Linked DNA regions of Homo sapiens: regions 1, 2, 3, 4 and 5 are each linked to region 6. Evidence: promoter capture Hi-C in human tissues and cell types (Jung and others, 2019). All regions are on one chromosome and are shown on one strand. The core of a region is centred on a gene start or on the middle of the fragment in contact, and the rest is flanking DNA. Distances in the headings are between cores, read along the strand shown. Region 1 has its middle 17 kb from the start of IREB2. Region 2 overlaps LOC105370913 (a long non-coding RNA gene). Region 3 has its middle 40 kb from the start of IREB2. Region 4 has its middle 72 kb from the start of ADAMTS7. Region 5 overlaps LOC105370913 (a long non-coding RNA gene). Region 6 holds the start of CHRNA5 (cholinergic receptor nicotinic alpha 5 subunit).

Region 1 (2,700 bases), core at 26-2,525, 140 kb before region 6:
AGGGTGTGGAAAGCAGTCCTCATGCACAGAGCCCGCCTCTGGGTGGGGCCACAGGACCAGTTGAGTCATGAGTCACGAGTCCAGGTAGGGTCAGTCTGGAAAACATCTCAAAAAAATCTAATCTTAGGTTCTACAATAGTGATGTTATCTATAGGAGCAATTAGGAAAGTCACAAGTCTTGTGACCTCTGGCCACGTGACCCCTGAGCATTACTGCTCATGTTTTAGGGATTATAGAAGTTATCCCTACATTCTAGCAGAGTTCAAGCCCCTCCCATATTCTAATGGCTTTTTTAAAAAATTTATTATTATTATTATTATTTTTTGAGACAGAATCTTGCTCTTTTGCTCAGGCTGTAGTACAGTGGCACAATCTCGGCTCACTGCAACCTCCAACTACCTAGTTCAAGCGATTCTCCTGCCTCAACCTACTTGAGTAGCTGGGATTACAGGCATGTGCCACCATGCCCAGCTAATTTTTGTATTTTCAGTACAGATGGGGTTTCACCATGTTGGCCAGGCTAGTCTTGAACTCCTGACCCCAAGTAATCTGCCCACCTCCCCCCCTTCCAAAGTGATGGGATTACAGATGTGAGCCACTGCACCTAGCCTCTTATGGCTTTTCATTAGTCTGACATAGGCTGTTGTCAGTCCCTGAGCGAGGAGGGAGTTAGTTTTAGGAAGGGACTATTATCATCTTTGCTTTCAAGTTAAACTATGAATTCTTCCCAAGGTTAACTTGACTTATACCCAGGAATGACCAAGAACAGCTTGGAAGTCAGAAGCAAGATGGAGTCAACTATGTCAGATTTCTCTTACTGTCATAATTTTCCAAAGGCAGTTTTAAAACTAAGAGAGAAAAAGCACTAGGTTATGTGACATTTGACCCAGGAATGAGAAACCTTCCCTAGGTCTCTCCACCGCATGGACTGGAGGAGCCTCAGCTTGTCTGGCTTCTGCTTTTTGCTGCTGCTTGAGCAATTTTCCACCATCCCTCCTGCCAACACCATAGATACACCCTCAATGGGGAAAAACCTTTTTAACTTGAAAATTTAAGCGCTCACTTAACGGAAGTCACAGAGGTGAATATGACCAGAATCAATAGAGGTATCTTTGCCTCTGATGTTTCCCACTCCAGGTTCAGAGAGACAAGTTGCGTCTCTCTTTGAGCTTGCCTGCAGGATCACTTGATTCATGCTTTTTCTCCCATAAATATTTATTGAACACCTACCATGTGCCAATTCTAGGGGCTGGGGATACAGCAGTGAACAAAACAACCAAGTCCCTGCCTCATGGAACCTATGTTCTAGTAGGAAATAGACAACAAACAAATGAGTTAAATGTGCAGCATATTAGACCATGATAATGAGATGGGATGGTTCCCTTGACCTTGACCCCCTTCGTGGGCAGGAACTGGAGTGGCTTGTTTCACTCAGCCCACCGCTGGCCACTCCTCATGAGAGGGAGCGTGCAAGCGAGTACAGGAACCGGAGGGAACGAATGCTGGAACCGGCCAGTCACTTCTCTCTGGTGAGAGCAGGCTCTGTGCATCCCTGCAGCAGTGTCCAAGCCCCTGCCCTCTCAGCACCCAGGTTCTTGTCCAGCATCCAGAAAGAATCAGGTCACAAGAACGGGTTCAAGGGTAGTGTATGCAGAGGATTTTATTGGGTGATGGCTCTCAGCAACATGGGAGCTGGAAAGGGGATTGTGTGGGAAGAAGGTGATCTTTCCCTGAAGCCGCACTGTCTGAAGTTAGCTGCATCTATCCATAGTCTCCAACGCTCAGTTGCTGCTTCTCTGCTCACTGCTCAGCCTCTTGTATCCCCAACTCCCAGCAGCCTGCATCCCCACCGGTCAGCCGCTTGTGTTGCTTTGCCAGCTGAAGTCTTTTTATGGGCACGGGAGAGGAGCAGGGCAGACCAAACAAGCAACATTTTCATGGAAAAAAAGGGGGTCAGCTGTTTTCACTTAGGGCCATGGCTCCAGGCTTAAGGGTGGAGTTTAGCTGGGCGCTCAGCCATTCTGTATCAATAAGTGCTACGGAGAGGAATGAAAAGAATGAGTATAAGGGGTGCTGGGGTTTGCCATATATGTTGGGTGTTCAGGAAGACCTCACCGAGCTGGGCAAATTGGAGCAGAGACCCAGTGAAAGTGAAGGAGCAATCTATGTGGCTATCTAGGAGAAGGCACCTGAAAATGCAGAGGCCTAAAGAAGAGATTGTGCTTGGTGTTAAAGGAACAGCAAAGAGCAAGGAATGAGACTAATGCAGAGTGAGCAAAGGATGTAGGAGATGAGGCCAAAGAGGAGGAGTCAGATCAGGACCCTGGAGGCCATCGTGAGGACTTTGAATTTTACACTGACTAAGATGGGAGCCAGTGTGGAGTTCTGAGCAAAGAATGACATGAGCTGGCTTCCACTTTAACAGCATCCTCTGGCTGTTGTGCTGAGACTAGTTAGGAGGCTGCTGTCATCATCCAGAGCAGAGATGATAGTGGCCTGAACCAGGATGGATTGTGTGTGTGTGTGTGTGTGTGTGTGTGTGTGTGTATATATGTGTGTGTGTGTGTGTGTGTGTGTGCTTTTTAGAGATAGGGTCTTGCTCTGTCACCCAGGCTGAAGTGCAGTGGTACAGTCATAACACATTACAGCCTTCAACTCCCGGGCTCAAGTGATCCTCCCACCTCAGCCTCCCAAATAGCA
Region 2 (2,700 bases), core at 2-2,501, 130 kb after region 6:
ATAGACTCTCCAGGGACTCTGAGTGATTGGTCTGGGTGCAGCCTGGCCATAGGGCATTCTGAAAGCTCCCCAGGCCATTCTAATATAGACCACTGGACAGTAAAGGGTTAGTTTGCTCAGCAGCCTTGGGTCACTCCAACCCTGCACATTCCAAAAAGAGGATTGGCCCTTGACCACATCTGGGGAGATAACTTTAGAATATTCTGCCTTTTATTTATTTATTTATTTTTTTTTTTGAGGTGGATTCTCACTCCATTGCCCAGGCTGGAGTGCAGCGGCACGATCTGGGCTCACTGCAAACTCTGCCTCCTGGGTTCAAGCGATTCTCCTGTCTCAGGTTCCCGAGTAGCTGGGATTGCAGGCACCCACCACCAGGCCTGGCTAATTTTTTTCTATTTTTAGTAGAGACGGGGTTTCGCCATGTTGGCCAGGCTAGTCTCGAACTCCTGACCTCAGTTGATCCACCTGCCTCGGCCTCCCAAAGTGTTGGGATTACAGGCGTGAGCCACCATGCCCACACCTGGCTGAATATTCTGCCTTGTAAGAATGTTTTTGTATGCCTGAGACTTTGGGCCTTGGTGTATCAATACGACTTCTTTAAGGACTGAAGCCTGAGTAGCTGGGGTCAGTCACCCAGGAGCTGCATGCCTGCATGACTGACCCCCCAAGAAAAACCTTGAACACTAAGGCTTGCCTGGGTGGGCTTCCCAGGTAGACAACACTTAGCATGTGCTGTCACACATCATTGCTGGGAGAATTAACCACTGTCTGTGCAACTCCACTGGGAAAGCATAACTGGAAGCTGGTGCCTGGTTTCTCCTAGACTTTGTCCCTTTTCCCTTTGCGGATTCTAATCTGTATCTTTTCCCTGTAATGAACCATGACCAAGGGTATAATGGCTTTTCTAAGTCCTTTGCATCCTTATAACAAATCATTGAGCCCATGGCTGGTCTTAGGGATCCTCTACACGACCACCAAGACCAGGAACACTGAGCTGCAGTATACACATTGCTGAGCCCCACTCCAGAGATTCTGATTCAGTGCACCTGGGGTGGGCTTAGCAGCCTGCCTGGTTAGTAAGTTCCCCAACACTCTGCTCTGCTCCCATTCAGTGAATACAGGCTGCATGGCTGCCTGTCCCCTCTCCCTACCCTCTAAAGGCCAGTCACCCAGTCCTCTCAACCATCTCCACAGTCTCATCTCTTCCTTCTTACCCTCCTCTTTGCTTCATCCCCCAGTTTCATTCCACTCGCCACACTGTAGCCAAATTAAAATCTGAGTCTGGCGTTTCCCTTTGGGAAGGTGCTCAGTAGCTACGTACATGTGTTCCAAACTCTTGGTGGCATTCAGGGTCTTTCTTGGCCTTTTCAGCCTCCCCTCTAACCACAACACATACTGTCCCTTCCAGCCTTGGGGAATTCCTTGCAGCCTCAGAATAGGAGGCCTCCTCCATCTGCAGTGCCCTTTGCCCCCCTCTCTACATCCTCTCCTAGTCTACTCACCAGCCTGGATTGCAATTGCTCATTTGCTTACCTGACCCCCCCTCTCTATGCCAGAACCTGGCAGCTTCATACAAGTCCCTTAATAACTATATGTTCAATGAATGAATGAATGAATGAATGAATGAATGAATGAATGAGAGTCTTGTTCATCTGAGTTCCCAAGGCCCAGCATGGTGCTTGGCACATGATAGGTTCAAATAAATGAGAGATGAATGAACAGCTTTTGCACCCCACCCTCAAGCCCACCTCCCTTCCTTTGTCTCCCCTCCTTTCTGTCATTCTCCTTTATCACTGAGGGTCCTTTTTTGGTTATACTCTGATTCTGCTACCCAGGGGCACTTCTGTGGAAAGCCTCAGCTGCCTCCTGATTGGTCCTTTTACCTCCAGCCCCAGCAGATAAGGAACTGAGAGCTTGCAGGGGGCAGCTGAGGAAGACTGCAAATCAGTGTCAAATATCTATGTAGAGCTGAACTTGATTTGAACCTCCCATAAGCCCAGGGAGGGTGGCAATATTCTCATCAATTTACAGATGAGGAAACTGAGGTTCAGAGAGGTTGAGTGTTTGCACATAGTAGCTTGATAGCAGAGATGGGATGAGAACACAGACCTTCAGCCATACATCTTTGTGCTCTTCCTTTTAGCCAGACACCAGGGGCCTTGAAGGCCACAAAAAAAGTATTTTGGCCTTTGGATAGTTCAGGGCTACATTCCCTTCGCCAGTCTTGTCTTCTTAAATTGCTACTTTTGATGCTGACTGATCTCCAGCCCCAGGTAAAATACACACAGTTTTGTCACTATGTCAAGCAGAAACAAGTTCAGTGCTGGGAAAGGAAGTCAAACTCTCCTTGGAAAAAGTCAGATGGGACGTACTACTTTTAGGCCCAGCTGGATGTGCAAGGAGAGAGCCCCCAGACCCCTGCCACAGGCGCCAGCTCCCTCACCAGCAGGGTGCACCAGTGTTTCTCCTTCTTCCCAGAGACCTTGCTCTGCCTGATAAAGCTCCAGCTCTTGGCAGGCACTCAAGGCCTTCACTATCTCACTGTGACTGTAGGTCAGACACATTCTAGATTGACAGAATATCGCCCATGGGGCTGAAACCCACAAAATACCTTCAGTGTTGGCCAGAGGGACTATGGGGTTTGGGTTGGCCCATCTCTTTGGGAACAGCTGAACTGAGAAATGCAAACCACCTTCCTGA
Region 3 (2,700 bases), core at 51-2,550, 170 kb before region 6:
AATTACAGGTGTGAACTACTGTGCCCGGCCCAAATCACTCATTTATTGTCTGAAGAGCTGAGCCGTGTGAAGCCCAGCCCCTTGGAGGGTGCTGGGGTTGGATGGGGGTAACCAGTAAGACCCCTGCGTACTGGACACTGTGCTGGGTGCTTCACCACATCCTCTCACTTTCTCCCTGGACTGTCCCTAGGAGTGAGGTGATGGGGACTGTGTTCCTTATTTTACAGATGAGGCAACTGTGGCTCAGAGAGGTTAAATCACTTGCCCAGGGTCACACAGCTAGAAAGTGATGGAGTTGTGATTCAAACCCAGGCCAGTCTGATACCAAGCCTTTGGCCTTCCCGTGTGCTAGACTCCGGGAGGACGACCTAGAATAGTTGAAGCAAGAGCTGTCATATAGGTGAGAAAGAACTTTGGGAGCTATAGCAAGGAAGAGAAAGGAAATTGCATCTTTGAGGCCAAAGATTATTAGTCACAGAGGTATGGCTACCAGGCCCTCGAGCTGTCACTTACTTGCCACAAGCAGGGCCCTGAAAAGCCTGTTTTTTTCTGCTCTGACTTCAAACACAGATTCTCCAAGCAAGAAAGGCTAGCTTGTGAGACCAAGTTTCACAGAGATGGAGCTTGCAGGGAAAGGTCAGAGGAATTGTCCCCGGGTTCCTCAGAGGAGGCAGACGAGTTCGGAGTAGTTAGCAATAAACATATCAGCCCCGGCCCCTAGAGGGCACTGGCCAGAGGGAGCCTCAAGGGAGCAAGCAGGGCTGGGGCATGGAAGCCAGCCAGAGTCCAGCCTAGCTTTGGGCCGGGCCCAGAAACCAGTTCTGTTAAACAAAGCATTACACAACCATCTCATTAACTGCATCAATCCAGAAGGTCAAACTAACTCACTCCAGCGTCTGCGGGGCTCTGTTGGGGTGGGTGGGAGAGGACAGCCTCCTGAATTCCAGGCACTTGGGTCCACGTTGGTTTAATTAGCTCCATGATGTCCGCTTCCCTTGGGCACAGCCTTGCATGCCAGGGCCCTGACAGCTGCCTGGTGCCCCTAGAGGAGCCAGAAAAAGAGGGGGGTGCCTAGGGCAGGAGTGAACCCCTCACCCAGGCCAGCCAGGGCAGGAAGTCTGGGGTTGGCAGAGCAGTGATACAAAGACCAAGGCTGGAGATACCATGTTAGGGCTCAGGCTGAAAGGACCCGGAGAAGCTGTGGGTGAGAAAATGAGGCTGGCAAGTTTGCAGAGTGTGAAGCAAGCCAGGGCAACAGGTTCAAGACAGAGGCCAAAAGGAACACAAAGGTGTCATTGGCCAAGTTGGGGCATTGTCAGTTATAGATATGACAGACTGGAGGTACTCAGCAGGACTGAACTGTGGCAAGTGGTCAGGACTAGAGAACTCGAAGAAAGTCACAGAACTCAAGGAATAATAATAAAGGTAATGGAAAGGTCGGGAAACTAAAACAATTGTTCTCAAAGTGTAGTCCCTAGAGTAGCGGCATTAGTATCACCTGAGAACTTCTTAGAAATGCAAAATATTGGAATCTACCCTAGGCCTTCAAAATCAGACTGGGAAAGGCCCAGCAATCTGTGTTTTAATAAGACCTGAGGGTCATTCTGATGCAGGATGAAGCTTGAGAACCACTAGGCTACTCAGTGTGGTTGGTCCATGGACCAGCACCATCAGATGAAATGGCGCTGAGAGTTTGTTACAAATGCAGACTCTCAGGCCTGGCCCCAGACCTACTGAGTCTGCAGTTTAACAGGATCCCTGGGGCATCCCACGTACCTTTTAATTTGACAAGAGCTACACCTGAGCTCCACTGACCTGGGATTCTTTGGTCTGGGTGTGAATGAGTCTGTGTCTAAGTCCAGGGACAAATAGACACAGATGGCAATGGGGAAGTAGGCCACCCAGTTCCAGGCATAGGCAAAGGCTGTCCTCAGCTCTTCACGAATTTAGACTGCTGCCAGAAAATGTCACCAAGAAAAATAATGGCTTCACTGAGCCTGCAAATGTGCTCAACCTAGACATTGTGCAGAAAGCAGATTGCAAAGGCAACAAGACCAACAGCCCGACAGTGCTATTCGTATTCCATGGGAGACAGCTGGAGCCCCTGAGATGCAGGCGGGCTCCCAACCCTCTGTGATTGTGATGTGGAGATGATTTAAGAAGAAGCAGCCGAGGGTGGCTGTAAGCAAGTGACGCTCCTGAGAAGACAAAGCTGCAGAGATAGGAGGCTGGACCTGTCACCGCTGCCCAGAATGACCCAGGATTCTCATTCTTTCCAGGGAAACCAGTGGGCAACATTGACGACTGACAGGAGGGGACCTTGCCTCCAAGGCTCCAAGGCCGGATAAGAATGGCTTTACCTTCCTGACTCCAGAAAGAACCGCCCTTTTTCCCCACCTCCCTGATGGCTTCCTGGTGCTTGTGATTCTACCAGACTAGCTTTTCCTTTCCCCCTAATAATAGCTGCTAATTAATATTTAGCGAGGGTTTACCAAGCGCCGGGCTCTGAGCTAAGTACCTTGTATGTACTTTTTTCATTTAATCCTCTCAACAGTTCTACTAGGAAGGTACTACTATTTTCAGTATTTACTAATATTTGGGTATTTCTTAATTACTAAAAACATTTCTCATTCTACAGATGAAAATTGAGAGTAGAAGTTGGTCAGTAGCTTTCCGAAGTCAGCTAGATAGAAAGAAGGC
Region 4 (2,700 bases), core at 75-2,574, 170 kb after region 6:
GTGTACACATAGTATCTGTGTAACATTTTGTATATTCCGGGGGGTAGGGCCACCCCTTGTATCATACCTACCAGAGGCTGGAGCTGGCATATGAGGAGGAGGTTCTAATCATTATTTACGGCTGGGAAACTTATTTATTGATAGCATAGGACAGAGGAAGGAGGAGGGGATGGGGTCCTGGCTGCCTTGGTGATGTGACTCCTGTTTATTTTGCTTTCCATTTTGGAATAAATGGATTTAGCCATACTGCTCAGCCTGGTGGGTTCCCATTTCCCTCACTGGGTCCTGGAGTTTGCGCCACTGAATGAAGAGCCCCAGAGTGAGCATGTCCAGCTGGGCTGTTGGGGACCTTCCAGGCCTGTTACCTGTATGCTGCCTGGTGACACCTGGTAGATTGCATGGGGATTGCTATGGCGCCTATGGGGCACAGTCCGGCCCTGACAGCCAACAGGCTCAGAAGCCTGATCTAGCGGTGGCCGGGAAGGCAGATACGAGCACCCAAGGCCACTGACTTCCATTCACCCCAGTCGTCTTCGGTTCCGTCCCCTTGCCTCCCTCTCCTGTCTGCACAGGGTGGCCTGTTCTGTCTGGCCCTCTAGAGTGTCAGCTGCCCCGCAGGCTCCTCCAGGCTGAGTTCATGGTCCTGCCCCCTAGTGGCCAGAGCCAGCTTCACAGGATAAGAGCCAGCTAAGCTCCAGGGGCTTTCCAGGAAGTGTCCCTTGGAAAGGGTGTGGCCTTTTCACCGCTCCCAACAGCACCCTAGAAATGGCTTGGCTTTTTCCCTCCCCTCAGCTCCACAGAGAACACAGCCAGCAGAGGACACATTCCCCATCATCCAGAAATGGGTTTGATTCTCAGCCAAGGGACACCAGGGCTGGTAGAGACTGTCAGGCCACACAGCTGCCTGCACAGCACCCCCATGCTTGGTGGGGGGTGGGAGGGATGGCGGGGGGTGGGACGGTGGGGGGGTGGGACGGATGGCGGGGGCTGGCTGTCCACAGGCTGGGCATGACAGGCAGGCTCACTGGAGGTGGCACACTTTGGAGGGGCAGTGTCAGGGGAGACCTTCCTTTTGTTGGGCCACAAGACTCCACAAGGACAGCACGGTGACTGATTCCCAGTGCTAGAGGCGAGGTGGTCGGCCATATGTAGGTGTGTGTGTGTGTATATATATATATATATATGTATATTTATATATATATTTATATATATGTATATTTATATATATATTTATATTTATATATATATGAGTATTTATAGCTATTTATAGAACAAGGCAGGGGCATACCACAGAGGGGCCACAAGTTTTCAGCAATGGTCACACCTGGATGTGTCAGCTCACCACTACAACAGACTAAGTCACAGATGAAGGGGGCTGGCTTTGGGGCTGGGGAGCCACTGTCAAGTCACAGGACACCCGCCCAGGCAGGCTTGGAAAGGGAGGTCTCTGAGAAGAGGAGGATCTGTTTAGAGGTTGGAGTGGGGCTGGAGCTCTCAGGATGGGATGGACTTGCCTAACCCAATCAGTTGGCAGTTGGAGAAAAGCAGAGAGAAAATAGGAGAGAGAATAGCAAGCAGAGAGCTGGTGATGCAAGCGCAGAGCACGGGCATGTCGCAGCAGCTGTGGGAGGGCCGGGGAGGGGAGCGCGCAGGTGCGGGTGTAGCAAAGGTTCCTGGAAAAGAGGGGCTGGAAGGGAAAGGGGAGGAAGATGGAGGGAGAAGCCAGAGCTTCACAGGTAGTGCCTGGGGGCTGCGGCAGCCCTCCCCAGCTCACACACACTGGCCTCTCCCATGGCACCCAGGCAGTGCACCCACACTTCAGACCAATGCTCAGCCGCTTTGGGCTTCTCTCTTCTCTGGTCACCCTGCCTTCCAACCCACTGGCCCAGGGCCACCTCTTGCTTGGGGAGCCCCACCCAACAGCCACCTGGCCTGATAAGGAACACTGCTTGAACCAAAATGGTGAAGCTATAAGGGATGGATGGCTGGAGTGAGTACCAGAGGCCCCTCTGGTGGTGAGAAAGTCCAGGGTCCTCTGAAGGGACCCTGGGGAAGGCAGGGAGGGCAGGTAGCCGGATGCCACTGGCCATAGACTTATAAGTCTAAGAGGGGAGCCTCAGCTGGTTGCGGGGTGAGGGGGGCTGCAAGTTTCATAGCTGAGGCTGGGTCCTTCCTGCTGGGAAAAGCAGAAGAGGGAGAGTCCATGGCAGGAGAGGCAGGTGGGCTCGCTAGGCGGAGCTCAGCTGGGCCAGCAGGCACTGTGGTCCCCTTGGCTGAATAGCACAGGCGACCCCTAGGAGCAACAGGCCAAGGTGCGTGAGCCTGCTGGTCGGCGATAGTGCTTCAGTGGGGGCCAGGGACCCTGCCTTCAGTCACACGCTAGCAGCTGCGGTGGTACCTGGCAGGGAGGGAAGGGGGCTGTGTGTCCCTGCCTGGCCTGTGAAGTGTGTTGTGGGATGACCGTGTGTATGGGACTCTTAAGGTTTTATCCTAGATCACCAGGGATTGCCAACAGATAGAGGAGGTGGGACCCTGACTATCACCCCTCCTCTGCAGTGGGTTTGACTCTTGACACTCCCAGGCTGGGATCTGGATACCCTGACCTGGCAGCATGACTCAGACTGCACGACAGGTACAGCGTGCCCAGGATGACGTTCCTAGACCTCTAGCTGCCTCAGAGTCCAGCCGCACACACAACCC
Region 5 (2,700 bases), core at 8-2,507, 150 kb after region 6:
CCTTTCTTTCAGTTACTCCAACTGATCTATGAAATGCCTGGTAATAATTATCTAAAACTAAGATACACGAGCTACTCTATCAGCCCTGTTATTTTCCTGGAGGCTTCCCTCTCTCCCTTGCCCTCCATCCTTATGCTCCAAACTGGACTCAGCTCTCAGCCTGTGGCATGGCTGGCATTCTGACATGTCTCTGCACCATTGTGTGAATTTCCTGCTGCCTCTTCTGTGTGCATCTCCTGTTCCCTTGCCCCAGATCTTCTTTTTCCCTGGTTCACTGTCTCATTATGTTGCAGTACATCTTCCAGTGGCTTCCTGAAAAGCAGTGAATGGAAGCCAAGCTTTCTTACCTTCACATATTTTAGAATGTCATTGTTCTACCCCAACTCCTGATTAACAGTTTGGCTGGATATAATGCTCTAATTTGAAAGTAACTTCTCACATTGGGAAATACTGCTCTATTATTTTCTAGTTCCCAGTGTTGTTGGTAAGAAGTCAGTATCGTGCAGAATCTTGGCTCTTTACATGTGACCTGTCTTTTCTCTCTGGAAGATATTAGGATTTTCTATCTTTGGATTTCTCAATGATGTGCCTTGTTGTAGGTCTTTCCTCATTCACTTTGCTAGTCACTTGGTAGACTCTTTTGAATTAGAAAATTTTGTGCTTCTATTGCGGGAAGCCACGAGCAGGTTTGAGTGAGCTGGGTAATCACATTCTTTTCTTCCAAGGACAGAGGTATCAAGGCCCTGGGAACCTTATAAGTGGATGGGGAGAAAGGGGGCCTGAGGTGAATCCAACAAAGCTGCAGCATCCTCTGAGCTCATGTCCCAAGGCTAGGCTCTGCCTGAGGACAGGAGACATGGGTGAGACCCACTTCCTGCCCAGTCTCATAGTGGGGCTCAGGACACACATGGTCCAGGAGGTTCCCAGCCCCAGCTACATTTACATGCACCTACCTGCATGCAGCAATCAGTGAGCCACAGGACAACTTAGGGGAAGGGGCAGCTCCAGAGAGCAGGATAGGAGGGAGGTAAATGATTATGGGTGGGGAGTGGCCTTGTGAGGAAGGGGCAAAGTCAGGGCTCTGTGTGTGTGTGTGTGTGTGTGTGTGTGTGTGTGTGTTGTGTTGTGTATTGGGGGAAATGGGGAGAATATTTTGTCTGCCCCCTTTTCTGGCCACTGCACCCCTTTTTTCATGAATAGTTTTTCTTCCCATCATGGACTGAGTGTCTCTGTCTCCTCCAAATTCATATGTTGAAGCCCTAACCCTCTGCATGGCTGTATTTGCAGATGAGGCCTCTCAGGAAGTCATTAAGTTTGAATGAGGTCCTAAGGGTGGGGCCCTGATTCAGTAGGATTAGTGTCCTTATAAGACAAGACACCAGAGGGTGCACTCACTCTCTCTCTGCACAAATACAAAGAAGAGGTCACATGAGTGCACAATATGGCAGCCACCTACAGGCCAAGAGAAGAGGCCTCAGAATGAAACCTACCTTGCTGGCACTTTGGTCTTGGATTTCCCAGCCTCCAGAACCGTGACAAATAAATGTTTGCAGTTTAAGCCACCCATCTGTGGTATTTTGGCATGGCACCCTGAACTGACTAATACATCTCCCGGCCCTGCTTCAACCACATGACACTAGAGGGCTTGGCAGTTTTAGCGTCCCAGCTACCCAGCCAACCCAGACCAGACCAAGCAGAAACTTTCTTCTGGAATTTTTTTGTTTGTTTTTTTGAGACGGAGTCTCACACTGTCGCCCAGGCTGGAGTGCAATGGCACAATCTCAGCTCACTGCAACCTCCGCCTCCTGGGTTCAACTGATTCTCCTGCCTCAGCCTCCCGAGTACCTGGGATTACAGGCATCTGCCACCACGCCCGGCTATTTTTTGTATTTTTAGTAAAGACAAGGTTTCAACATGTTGGATAGGCTAGTCTGGAACTAGTGACCTCAGGTGATCCACCCGCCTTTGCTTCCCAAAGTGCTGGGATTACAGTCATGAGTCACCACACCGACCTATTTAAGCTGATTCTTTAAGGGTGAGTAGAAATTTTTTCCAGGTGAATAAAACCTTGAGATATTCCAAGCAGAGACCAGCAGGTGCAAAGACACAGGGATATACAGATGTTGAAATTTACCAACCACTGCTAGATTAGAAAAAACAAAAAGGAAACAATCAAAATAAAAATTTAAAATTAAAAATCACCTAAAAAAAAAACTAGGAATGGGCTTGGCCAGAGGTCACATTGCAATTGAGTTAACTATGACCATAGACACTCAGTAATGGATGGAAGTTTTAGGGAAAAACATAACATTCTCAGGTTGTTGCAGAGTATCTAGAACAATTTAGAAATACAGGCATTGAATTCTGGGAATAGTTACACTGTAGTGAAATCATGTCCTTCTCTGCATATGAAGCATATATGTGTCACACTGTTCAAAGTGCTGAAAATCAGACTCTTCTCAAGGAGCTCATGAGCAATCAAGGGAGATGGATGGGGGAGCAACTGATTATCATGTGACAAGTGAGGTAATAGAGATATGACTAAGATGCTATCAAAACAAGAATAAAGGAATTATTCATAATATATGGAGTGCTGGGGAAAGATTTCTCAAATGAAGCCAGCTGGGCGTGATGTCTCACACTTGTAATACCCACACTTTGAGGGGTGGAAGTGGGAGGATCCAGGAGGATCTAGGAGTT
Region 6 (2,700 bases), core at 188-2,687:
ATTTTAAAGTCATCCAAACACTGTTAGGATGAATTGCATAAGTGCCTGTAAGTCCCATAAATTCTTCAGAGTAAAATGTAAATTTGCAGTGAAAGGATGATAGGTACTGTCTTTCATTTCTGTGCAGAAGTGCAATTAATTACTAATCTGGTTAACATCTTGTGCATCCCTTTTCTGTGGCCCCTTTGTTTAAGTCCTGTTTAAACAGATTGGCTCCATTGGATGTAATTTACATTTTTCCAGCTGTATTTGGACCTAAGAAGAGCATCTTCACTGAATTTTGCTGTTTAGATTCTTTGCAACCAGGTTTAGTTTTTCACAGATTTACTAGTCTGGAGGGTGGAGTGAAATTTTTGCTCACAATGAGTCTTAGAGGTGTCACCTCCATAAAGCGTTCTGTGAAGAGTCAGCGGCTCCCTCTGCCACTGAAGTTTAAAGATAATTCGCCTGAATCCCTTCAGCCAAATGAAGCTTTCTAATTATGGACAGAGAGGATGAAATATAGGGTCTGGAGGGATTTGAGACGGGTTTCCAGCAGTCGGCACCAATCTCCACCAGAGGTGCTAAGTGTCTGTAGCAGATAGTCACTAATATTTACAAATGTTAATTGATGACAACACGGAGGGCGATGCCCACGTTTGAGGCGACTGCATATCATTTCCGGGGATGGCTTGAGTGAGTGTCAGAGCTGTACCTTCCCGAGTCCTCTAGTTTATCTGCCTCGGTTCCTCGCTTCCAGACGAGGAAACAGGCCCAGAGAGGAAAGTGACTTGCCCAGGGTTGTCTCGCTGGTCCACAACACAGGTCTCCTGGTGGGGACCCCTTGGCTGACACGACAGCCCCAGGAGGCAGTCAAGCTGCGACTGGTACTTCCTGGTGAGAAAGACTTGAGTGGGCAGCGGGGCCCATGGAGAGCGCTGCAGCCTGGAGCAAGTCCCCCACCACTGTGATTCTGCCCCAGCCTCCAGCTTGTTTCTTTCTGATCACAACTCGGAATTACTTTATTTACATTTTCTATCAGCTGGGAGCAATCTGTCCCTCTGCTTCCCCTTTTGGTGCTGAGCACAGAGCAGACATCAATGAATAGCTGTTATCTTAAGGTGTGCAGTGACTAGGCCAAGGACATCCGGTGGTTAGAGAAGGACGCGCCTGCGATGCCAGCCTCAAGTCTTTGCCTTCCTGGAACTCTGCTCCAGGGTCGCACCTGCCCAAAGGAAGGCCTGGAGGCGGGGGCCAGGGCGATGGGGCTGGGCCAGGCGTGGAAAAAGAGGAGCTAGGAGCAGACAGGGTTGGACCAGAGGCGGGGCGGGGTGGGGAAAGGGTTGGTGGGGATCGGAGGCGGGGCTATGAATAGACCGGACTGGGCCAAAAGGAACAAGGCGAGGATTGGGCGGGGCCAGAGGGAAATAGGGGCGGGGCTAGGCGCCGGGAGCTTCCACATGCGTCCCGAGCCCGCCAGAAGCTGCTAGGCTGAGGCTGCTGTCCCGGCGGGAGCTGTGGCGCGGAGCGGCCCCTCTGCTGCGTCTGCCCTCGTTTTGTCTCACGACTCACACTCAGTGCTCCATTCCCCAAGAGTTCGCGTTCCCCGCGCGGCGGTCGAGAGGCGGCTGCCCGCGGTCCCGCGCGGGCGCGGGGCGATGGCGGCGCGGGGGTCAGGGCCCCGCGCGCTCCGCCTGCTGCTCTTGGTCCAGCTGGTCGCGGGGCGCTGCGGTCTAGCGGGCGCGGCGGGCGGCGCGCAGAGAGGTAAGCCCGGGCTGCAGAGGGGCGGGGCGGGAGCTGGCCCGGACTCCACATCGCGGTGCCCAGGAAGCCGCCAGGCGACGGCCGCCGGAAAACCTGGTTGCGAGGGGAGGTGGGTTTTTTTCTCCTGGGGGCTTGGAGTGAGGTTTCAGTTTAAATGTCCAGATTTGCTCATTTAAATGCAGAGAAAGGGCTACTTGGGTGGGTTTTCTTTGTTGTTCCACGACCTGCATCGCTGGAGACTACGAGGCTGGCTTAGCGTATACTTCCACACAACTTTTTCAGTAAAAGATGCCACTCTTGTCCAGCAGGGCTTTCCTGTCCTGGTGGCAGCCAAGCTTCCCATTTTGTTGCCCATTTACGGGATATAGAGACTCTGGGGTTCATTCTAGGGGTTGGGACTTATCTTCCACCTCCTGCCCGCCGCCTCTTCCTCCATCCCTGTCCCCTACCCACCGCAGCATTTGAAAACCTTTCCTTTCGCCGGAGATGAAAGGTGTGTGTTGTAGCAGGCTAGGCGGCCAACTTCCCTGGCTTCGGGGCTAATCGTTTGCATCCAGAGTTCCTCACTAGCTCCTTAGAGCACAGCTTTTTTCAGCCTGCTGTTTTTCAAGAGGTTTTGGACAGGAATGGAAACAACAAAAGAAATCGCGTAGTCCTACATGTTTCAAGTGCTTGGGAAAGTTTTAGAGTCAGTTCTCTCAATACCTTGAAGAAAAACACGTTTGTGGAGCAGCTATGGTGTGATCTAAACGTAGAAAAGCTAAGCATCCGTTAAGCAAGATATGATTACAGAAGTTCACTACGTCTGTATTTCAGGTTTTATGAGTGAGTTTCTTAAATAGTGGAAATATTGCAAGAACCTTTTCTTGCCTTTCCTTTGTTAAGGTTTTTAATCTATGGCTCCTGATTTTAGGAAGTAATAAGACTAGAATAATTCATTGCAGGATGTATTGCTTA

Evidence for each region. The method cuts DNA at HindIII sites, captures the fragments that hold promoters and counts their contacts. A contact is called where the count stands out against the background at its distance.
Region 1: a fragment that was not itself captured here is called in contact with the fragment with the promoter of CHRNA5 in region 6 in 3 of the 25 tissues and cell types used here (adrenal gland, mesendoderm cells and thymus).
Region 2: a contact is called between a fragment that was not itself captured here and the fragment with the promoter of CHRNA5 in region 6, in 3 of the 25 tissues and cell types used here (dorsolateral prefrontal cortex, mesendoderm cells and thymus).
Region 3: a contact is called between a fragment that was not itself captured here and the fragment with the promoter of CHRNA5 in region 6, in 6 of the 25 tissues and cell types used here (liver, lymphoblastoid cells, mesendoderm cells and 3 more).
Region 4: a contact is called between a fragment that was not itself captured here and the fragment with the promoter of CHRNA5 in region 6, in 1 of the 25 tissues and cell types used here (thymus).
Region 5: a contact is called between a fragment that was not itself captured here and the fragment with the promoter of CHRNA5 in region 6, in 2 of the 25 tissues and cell types used here (dorsolateral prefrontal cortex and mesendoderm cells).

The regions. Positions count from the first base shown.
Region 1 is chr15:78,419,459-78,422,158 of GRCh38, forward strand. No RefSeq gene overlaps it. Among named protein-coding and RNA genes, the nearest start is that of IREB2, 17 kb to the right of the region's middle. The HindIII fragment of the contact is 6,971 bases long and covers 1-2,700 here.
Region 2 is chr15:78,693,571-78,696,270 of GRCh38, forward strand. The region is part of intron 2 of LOC105370913 (a long non-coding RNA gene); the gene reads right to left. Among named protein-coding and RNA genes, the nearest start is that of CHRNB4, 54 kb to the left of the region's middle. The HindIII fragment of the contact is 8,299 bases long and covers 1-2,700 here.
Region 3 is chr15:78,396,366-78,399,065 of GRCh38, forward strand. No RefSeq gene overlaps it. Among named protein-coding and RNA genes, the nearest start is that of IREB2, 40 kb to the right of the region's middle. The HindIII fragment of the contact is 7,261 bases long and covers 1-2,700 here.
Region 4 is chr15:78,737,666-78,740,365 of GRCh38, forward strand. It overlaps the pseudogene DNM1P37. Among named protein-coding and RNA genes, the nearest start is that of ADAMTS7, 72 kb to the right of the region's middle. RefSeq lists an enhancer at 1,794-2,700. The HindIII fragment of the contact is 7,094 bases long and covers 1-2,700 here.
Region 5 is chr15:78,713,600-78,716,299 of GRCh38, forward strand. All of the region lies in intron 1 of LOC105370913 (a long non-coding RNA gene), which reads right to left. Among named protein-coding and RNA genes, the nearest start is that of CHRNB4, 74 kb to the left of the region's middle. The HindIII fragment of the contact is 5,819 bases long and covers 1-2,700 here.
Region 6 is chr15:78,564,083-78,566,782 of GRCh38, forward strand. CHRNA5 (cholinergic receptor nicotinic alpha 5 subunit) reads left to right here and starts at 1,438. Exons shown (of 6, transcript NM_000745.4): 1 at 1,438-1,743. The coding sequence starts at 1,638. RefSeq lists an enhancer at 636-825 and a silencer at 1,636-1,725. The HindIII fragment of the contact is 8,456 bases long and covers 1-2,700 here.